Regions from separate parts of the Homo sapiens genome. Here region 2 is linked to region 1. Evidence: promoter capture Hi-C in human tissues and cell types (Jung and others, 2019). All regions are on one chromosome and are shown on one strand. The core of a region is centred on a gene start or on the middle of the fragment in contact, and the rest is flanking DNA. Distances in the headings are between cores, read along the strand shown. Region 1 holds the start of SLC9C1 (solute carrier family 9 member C1). Region 2 holds the start of CD200 (CD200 molecule).

Evidence for each region. Contacts are between HindIII fragments. The study calls those that stand out against the background at their distance.
Region 2: the fragment with the promoter of CD200 here is called in contact with the fragment with the promoter of SLC9C1 in region 1 in 1 of the 25 tissues and cell types used here (neural progenitor cells).

What each region holds. Positions count from the first base shown.
Region 1 is chr3:112,292,727-112,296,914 of GRCh38, forward strand. It overlaps SLC9C1 (solute carrier family 9 member C1), which reads right to left and starts at 1,490. Exons shown (of 29, transcript NM_183061.3): 1 at 1,367-1,490. The HindIII fragment of the contact is 5,534 bases long and covers 1-3,563 here.
Region 2 is chr3:112,331,207-112,335,500 of GRCh38, forward strand. It overlaps CD200 (CD200 molecule), which reads left to right and starts at 1,950. Exons shown (of 6, transcript NM_005944.7): 1 at 1,950-2,018. The coding sequence starts at 2,007. It overlaps LOC105374042 (a long non-coding RNA gene), which reads left to right. Exons shown (of 5, transcript NR_147411.1): 5 at 980-1,548. RefSeq lists enhancers at 1,617-2,574, 2,575-3,531, 4,028-4,294. The HindIII fragment of the contact is 7,249 bases long and covers 1-4,294 here.

The DNA of each region.
Region 1 (4,188 bases), core at 240-2,739:
TAGAGACGGGGTTTCACTGTGTTAGCCAGGATGGTCTCGATCTCCTGACCTTGTGATCTGCCCGCCTCGGCCTCCCAAAGTGCTGGGATTACAGGCGTGAGCCACCACGCCCGGCCACAGGTTTTCAATATAATTAGAACTCTTCATCTTAAGCTGACTTTTGACAGCTTTGTAAAAGTCTGTGAGTCCAAATCCCATTAAAGAAAAAAATATTGGTTTATCACATAGGTCCTCTGCATTAATTTAACAATAAGTTAGTTGACTGAGCACAGTGGCTCACGCCTGTAATCCCAGCACTTTGGGAGGCCTAGGCGGGTGGATCACTTGAGATCAGGAGTTCGAGACTAGCCTGGCCAAAATAGTGAAACTGTCTCTACTAAAAATACAAAAAAAAAAAAAAAAAAATTAGCCAGGTGTGGTGGCACATGCCTGTAATCCCAACTACTTGGGAGGCTGAGACAGGAGAATCAATTGAAGAGGCAGAGATTGCAGTGAGCCTAGATTGTGCCACTGCACTCCAGCTTGGGTGACAGAGTGAGACTCTATTTCAAATATATATATATATATATATCTCTCATGTTAGCTAATATCTCAATTCTCTTTGTGTGTGGAGGAAATTAATGACTGCCCTCTCAAAAATGACATGAATTTGTCCTTGTCAGTCAGCCAGCATTGAGAAATTTTGTCTCATGAACCGTAAGTCACACTAATTTACCATGTTACTGAACATGGAAACAGTCTTCTTCCTTCAGATTGGAACGTTTTGCAAGAATTAGGTGAAGAAAGCATCCTGAAGAGGGCACTGTGGGATCTCAGTAATCTTCACAGCTACAAAGCTCATGCTTAATGGTTTATTTTATATTGATACCAGAGGCTGGATTGTCTCCTTAGTAAACTCTCCTACCACACAACGCAGACATCTTACTGACTCTGAAGGTGGGTGGGCTATTGCCCTCCTAATGCCCCTCCACTCAGAATGAGCCCTTCCTCCAGCTCAAGATCAGCTCCACACACCTGAGGCGATTCCCTGAACCAGTGAGCTTTCCCCTAGGGCTGGACTTTTCAGTTTCAGTAACGCAAAGGGAACACATGCCACTGGATAGTTCACAAAGAGTTGATGTAAAAAGCATAATGGAGGAGGGGAAGCAGCTAAGGGGTAGAAGTTCAAACCGAGAAGCTAGCTGATCTTTGGGAAAGTGTTCCATGGTCTGCCACAAGAAAGGCAGAAGCGCCAAGAGGGAGTGGCTGAATCTCTAGCAGGAAAACAGTGGGAGCCTTTGTTCATCTAGGAGGCGAGACTGAGAGAGAAAGTACCAGTAGGAAAGGTCAACTTCCAGAAAAGGAAACTAGAGACTGGAGAGCTCACCATCCGGAGCCTCAGGAGGAGTATCCCGTGGTGTGCAAGTGAGAAGTGGGGGGCAGCTATTTCGCTCACAGCCAAACAGCCCAGACCAACTGCAACCTCACTGACAGTTACTTGCTCCAAACTCGCCCCTAGTCTGCACCGGTTAGCTTCAGGCCCATCATCTCTTACTTGATTGGCTGATGAAATGCAACGTCATTGCTCCTGTATATCTCAGGCATTTGACGGCTTAAGGCTTTGTTTTATTTTTTAAAAATAAACAAATAAGGGGTGAAAATGAACCTACAGAAATTGCGCCATTGTGTTAATTTAAGACTTTGGGACAGTGGATTTCTGACAAAGAGCTGTTGGACACTGCTTTCCCAGAATTCTAGTAAAAGGAAGTTTCCTGGATAAGATAGTGTGGTAGAGATATGAGGACGCAGGTTGCTGGGTTAGGGAAAAAGTGAATGGATATTGTGGGCATGTAAGAGAATGAAATCAAGATGACAAGGTGAACTTTCACTCTGGGTTATATGTGAGGAAATTTTCAGGAATAATGATATACTCATTTGTTTTTTCTAAACATAATATGTAAAAAATATTTTAATTGAAATTACTTAGTTATTACTATAGAGCCAACTTTTCACATTCCTACTCTCATAAAATATCTTAAAGTTATTTAAAATTGTATTTAATGTTTTGTTCTCTGTGTTTCATCTCTTTCTCCCGACCCACACGTTTATAAGTGAATGGTGGTAAAATTCCCAACTCTTCATTTGGCCTCCTCTGATACTACCCTGATGAAGAAGGCAGGAGGCAACTTGTTTGGCTGGGTTGGAGCAGAAGTCCAGGCTCCCTACATGGTCTCCAACTGAGGCATGGGGTGCATCTTTATGGCCTGGTTGTTATGGAAGTTCCAGCTCCCACAAGGCCTTTTCTGATACTGCTCTGGTTGGGGTGGGGAAACAGGCAGGGTTCTGGCATCTTGTATGGTATGGGTGAAGTTTAAGCTTCCTACTCAGTCTTTGCTGGTATGTGGGTACAGGGAGTGGGTGAACACTTTTCTGTGGTGTTTGGTTAAAGTAGAGCAGTTACTGGTGAAATTTTCTGTCTTGCTGGGCTGCCCCTTTTCTTGGGTCTTTAAAAAATCTATTCTCGGCCAGGTGCAGTGGCTCATGCCTGTAATCCCAGCACTTTGGGAGGCCGAGGCAGGTGGATCACCTGAGGTCAGGAGTTCGAGACCAGCCTGACCAACAAGGTGAAACCCCGTCTCTACTAAAAATACAAAAATTAGCCGGGCATGGTGGCAGGCGCCTATAGTCCTAGCTCCGGGAGGCTAAGAAAGGAGAATCACTTGAACCCGGGAGATGGAGGTTGCAGTGAGCCGAGATTGCGCCACTGCACTCCAGCCTGGGAGACAGGGTGAGACACCGTTTCAAAAAAAAAAAAAAAGGATTCTCATTGTTGGAAATACATGCCACATATCTGTGTGTGGGTTGTGGTTCATGTGTGGATATATATTTAAAAATTAATTAAGTTGCAAAGCTAATATTTGCCACATTATGTATTTGTTTATATACATATGTCTTGCTAAGTTTATATATATATATATATATATATATATATAAATAAAACAGGAAATGTAAATGTTGTCTAATATTTCTCTTTAGCAATATACTCTAATGACCACACACTGGACATCCTTGTAATCCAGAATCATTCACCTTTTTTTTCCAAGAGATGGGATCTCACTCTGTCACTCAGGCTGGAAGGTAGTGGTATGACCATAGCTCCCTGCTACCTTAAACTTCTGGGCTCAAGCAGTCCTCACACCTGAACCTCCCAAGTATTTGGGTGAATACTTCTACAGGCATGTCACCACACCTAATTTTTTAATTCTTTTTGTAGAGATGGAGTCTTGCTATGTTGCCCAGGCTGGTCTCAAACTCCTGGCCTCAAGCCATCCTCTCCTCAGCCTCCCAAAGTCCTGGGATTATAGGCATAAGCCACCTCCCATGGTATCAGTGGAGACCATGCAGGGAGCAGTAATAGGACACCCTTCTCTTTCCCATCCAGGGGGCTATCATCAGAGACCTAGTGAAGAGCCTGAAGCCCCACTCCTACCTAAGCAGTAAGAAGACACCCCTTCTTCGGCTGTGTGTCAATGAAGACTGAGTAGAGAACTTGAGCTTTTATTCCAACTTGCCTACAAGAGGTGACCCCACTTCTCCTGCCAGAACAGTGTCAGAGGATGCCTGGTAAAACCCAGGATTTAAATAAGATCCAGTATCTTATAATATCTGCAATGTCCAAATAGAAATTGAAAATCGCTCATCATACCAAGAACCAAGGTGATCCCAACTTGAATGAGAATGGACAATAAAAGACACCAACCCTAAGATTACAAAAATGTTAGAATTATCTAAAAAGGATTTTAACATAGCCATCATAAAAATATTTCAGCAAATGCTAATAATTATGAACAGTATTGAAATAGATGAAAAAATAGAAAGTCTGGGCAAAGAAGTAAAGTTCCAGGGAAAAAAATAGGTGATATAAAGGGAAGCCAAATGAAAATTACAGATGCAAAAAATACAACAACAAATTCTAAAAAAAAAAAAAAATCAGCAAATGGACTGCCTTGCACCTCTCTTGTTAAACTTATTCCTGGTCATTTAATTCTTTTTTTTTTTCCTTGCAATCACAATGGAACTGGGTTTTTAATTTTATTTTTGCATTATTCATTGCTAGTGTATAGAAGTACAACTGATTTTTCTGTATTAATCTAGTATTCTATAACCTTGGTGAACTCATTTATAGGTCAGTGCCAAAGTAATGGCAAA
Region 2 (4,294 bases), core at 700-3,199, 39 kb after region 1:
CCAATTTGAAAAACAAAGAAATGTTAATTAATAGAAGAATAGATAAATAAATTGTAATAGACAGTATTTACAGAATAGGATACTATACATCAGTGAGAATGAATAAGCCACACTACAGGCAATAACATGGATGGATTTTTAAAATCTACTGTTGAGTAAAAAACCCAGAAACAAGTGAAGACATATGCTACGATGCCATTCATATAAAATTCAAAATCAGGTGAGCCTAGTCTATGGTGTTAGAAGTAGGAGAATAGGGGCCGGGCGCGGTGGCTCACGCCTGTAATTCCCACAACTTTGGGAGGCTGAGACGGGCGAATCATGAAGTCAGGAGATCGAGACCATCCTGGCTAAACGGTGAAACCCCGTCTCTACTAAAAATACAAAAAAAATTAGCCGGGCGTGGTGGCGGGCGCCTGTAGTCCCAGCTACTTCGGAGGCTGAGGCAGGAGAATGGCGTGAACCCAGGAGGCAGAGCTTGCAGTGAGCCGAGATCGCGCCACTGCACTCCAGCCTGGACGACAGAGCGAGACTCCGCCCCCGTCTCCCACCGCCCCCCCCCCAAAAAAAGAAGTGGGAGAATAGGTCAGGTGCAGTGGTTCATGCCTGTAATCCCACTGCTTTGGGAGGCAAAGGTAGAAGGAGCATTTGAGGCTAGGAATTTCAGGCCAGCCTGGGCAACACAAGACCCCGTGTCTGGAAAAAAAAAAAAAGCTGGACATAGTGGCTGCACAACTATCATTCTAGCTACTCTAGAGGCTGAGGTGAGAGGATCCCTTGAGCCCAGGAGTGAGTTATGATCGCACCACTGCATTCCAGCTTGGACAACAGAGCGAGACTTTGTCTGTAAAAAGAAGCAAAAACAAAACCCCAAAGCTTTGTCCCAGCTCCTTATGAGAGGGTGGTAGTAGTAAAACACAAAAGCCTTCAGGAGGTGAACACTTGATGATTTCTTTGTCCTTTTTTTTTTTTTTTTAAGAGCCAAGAACTCTGGAACAAGAAGAAGAAGACGAAGGAGGAGGAGGAGGGGGAGGGGGAGGAGGAGAAGGAGAAGGAGGAGAAGGAGAAGGAGAAGGAGACGGAGAAGGAGGAAGAGGAGGAGGAGGGCCGGGCGCAGTGGCTCACGCCTGTAATCCCAGCATTTTGGGAGGCCGAGGCGGGCGGATCACGAGGTCAAGAGACCGAGACCATCCTGGCTAACATGGTGAAACCCCGTCTCTACTAAAAATACAAAAAATTAGCCGGGCATGGTGGCGGGCGTCTGTAGTCCCAGCTACTCGGGAGGCTGAGGCAGGAGAATGGCGGGAACCCGGGAGGCGGAGCTTGTAGTGAGCCAAGATAGCGCCACTGCACTCCAGCCTGGACCACAGAGCGAGACTCCGTCTCAAGAAGAAGAAGAAGGAGAAGAAGGAGAAGGAGAAGGGAAAAAAGAATCCTCATCATTAATGCAAGTGGAAGGAAACTCTTCACCAAAGAATTGATCACATCATGAAAGGTGAAATCATTACGGAATTGCTTAAATATATAATTTGAATCTGGATTTAAAAATAATAAATGTAAGTTTTTTCTTTAAAAAAAAAAAAAAGTCCATTGGTTAAATTCAGCTTGAATCCTTTGCCACTACATCAAGAGCTAACAGGTCAACAACTGATCTCCACAACCTCCCACCTCATTTCCTTTCTCAGTCCAGGTAGCAGGAAAATGGAAAAAAAAAAATGATTTTTTTTTTCCAAACACTTTGTCAGTTTCCCCAGCGGTCACCTTTGAAAAGGGAAAAATGTCTGAAAATAGACAAAGCTGAATATAAACATCATTTAATTCCCCCCACACAGACAGCCTCCGCTCCTGTGAGGGCGTGGGGAAAACGGAGTGGGAGAAGGGGGCTAGCGAGGAGGAAGAGGCGGGAGGTGCGGCAGGGGCACAGGTGACGCTCCTCCCGCCTGCCTAGCAGAGCTCCAGGCGCACATCCGCAGTCAGCCACCTCGCGCGCGCCTCCAGGAGCAAGGATGGAGAGGCTGGTGAGCGGGGCCGGGGCTTGGGAAGGAGGGCGCAGGGCAGGCGATGTTGAGCCGGTGGCCCTGGGGCGGGCGGCGAGTGGAAGGCGCGGAGCTTCGGCTCTTGCCACAATCTGGTCCGGGGACTAGATCAGCGGTGTTGATGGCAGCGCTTTTCTCTAAGCGCTTTCTCTTGCTGAGAAACGGATTTTGCCTTCCAAAGGGTGGTTTACAGGCAGCTGCTGGCGTCCAGATTCTCCATTCCAATTGCCTGAAAAAAAGATGCACCAGGCCGGGGCTCCGGGGGCTCTTGATCCGCGCTGACGAAGCTGGCGCATCCTCCGGGCAGGCTCGGCTCGGCTCACTGGCTCCAGCTCCCAAAACTGGGGAGGCACAGCCTATTTTAAACTGCCCCCAAAAGGGAAAGAGAAATGCTGTATTGGTTCCATATTGGCACCAAAAGCTGCGGCGGAGATACAGATTTCCAGGCTCGCTTTCTCCGGGAGAGCTCCTGCGTCTCCTCTTTGTTATGCAGCCCCTTTCTCCCTCCTAGCCCTTGCCTGGGGGAAGCCATGAAGGATCAGTTAAAGCTGAAGCTACACTTGAGAGAGCTGAAATGCTCTGTGATCATAATGCTTTGAAGGGTTAACCCCGGGTATCTAGAGAAACAGACATTTTGTTTATTCGGAACCAGCTTACAAGACAAAAAACGGAGAAGGTTTTCATATATCCCATTGGTATATGAAATCCAAATACAATGGTATTGGTATAAGAATCCAAATACAGTGAATGCCTCAAGATAATTTTTTCATGTATGGTTTGTTGGCAAGACCACATAGCCAATGATTTCACTGTCTTTCTTAACAAAGGAGAATGGTGGTCTGTGAGCTACGGTCTACTGCAAGCTAGATGCTGTTAATCTTCTTTGTAACTATCCTTCTAAAAATGAATTATTACCTCGTTTTACACATAAACAGGCGGAAAGGCTGATATTTCCAAGTCCTTGTGACTACATGTGGGGTAATGTGGATTTGGACATAGAAACTTGCTGAGGAAGAGGCATGAATAGGGGCAATATAGCTACCAGGTGGGCAGCTGTCTGGTAAGACCCAGGTTTTTGTGAACCCTGGACTGCATGGCAAGGGTTATAAGTGGGCTTCTTTGTTTTCAGGACTGTAGTTCCCCCTATATGATTTGATCGATTAATTTTTTTAGCTACCTAACACGTATTGGCATTTACTATAACCTAGGCTCTATACTAAGTGCTTTAATTGCCTAATTCTCATAATAACTATGTGAGATAAGAGCAACATTTATTTAGTGCTTATTTCTACTGGCAGTATTCTAGGAGCTTTATATACTACTTCATTTAGTCTTTTTAACCATTAGATTGGTACTATTACTTTTCCGGAGTCTCAGAGAGGTAAAATGATTTCTTTTGCTCACAAATCTAGTATTTGTTTTAGCCCCGGTCACCTCCCTGTAAACATATAAATACTGTTGTTTTCAGATTGGTCGTATTTTCAGTTATTCTGCACAGACTCGAGGAAAAAAAAAACCTGTAAAATAAAAATACGTATCTATTTAAGAGTAAGGCTTTCCTTCTGATTTCCTTTGCCTCAATCACTGTGTTTTGTTTCTTAACATTGCTGGCTCCCAGTCCACAATATATGGTTTGGTATGTATCTGCTTTCTCTCTTGTCCTAAAACACAGATTTTCTCTATGAGAGCTTGTCCATTCTGCATTCTTCATCATGGCCTCTGGTAGAGCCTGGATTTCCACGTCAGAGAAGCCTAATGGTTTAAAAAATATCACATAGAATTGGAATGCCAGTATCTGTCTCCACAATTGCCTTAGCTGAAAATAAAACAAAATGTGTTGGGTGGGCACTGGCAATGGAGCCTGAGGAAATATTTGGCCTGATTTTTTCTGACTTTCCTAGATAATTAGATAGGATGGAACAGTCTCAGTAATACTGAGAAAATTATCGAGTTATATATTTTTTTTCACTTCAAAACCAAAGCCTTTGTGAGTATAATACCCAGCAGTGGATGGGCAGGGTGAGCAGATCTTTGTAGGCTGTATGTATTCAGGCAGCTGAACCATCTTGGGTTTCTCAAAGAGCAGTGACTATGTTATTAGTCTTAGACCTATGAAGACAGGAAGAGAAGTCACAAGGAAGGGATAGCATGCTTATGGTATGCTTGGGTATCGAATAATAAAATATATCTGCAAAGAATAATTTGTCCTAATGGCACCTTCAGATGATATAATCTTGAATTCTCTGTAGCCTTAGAGA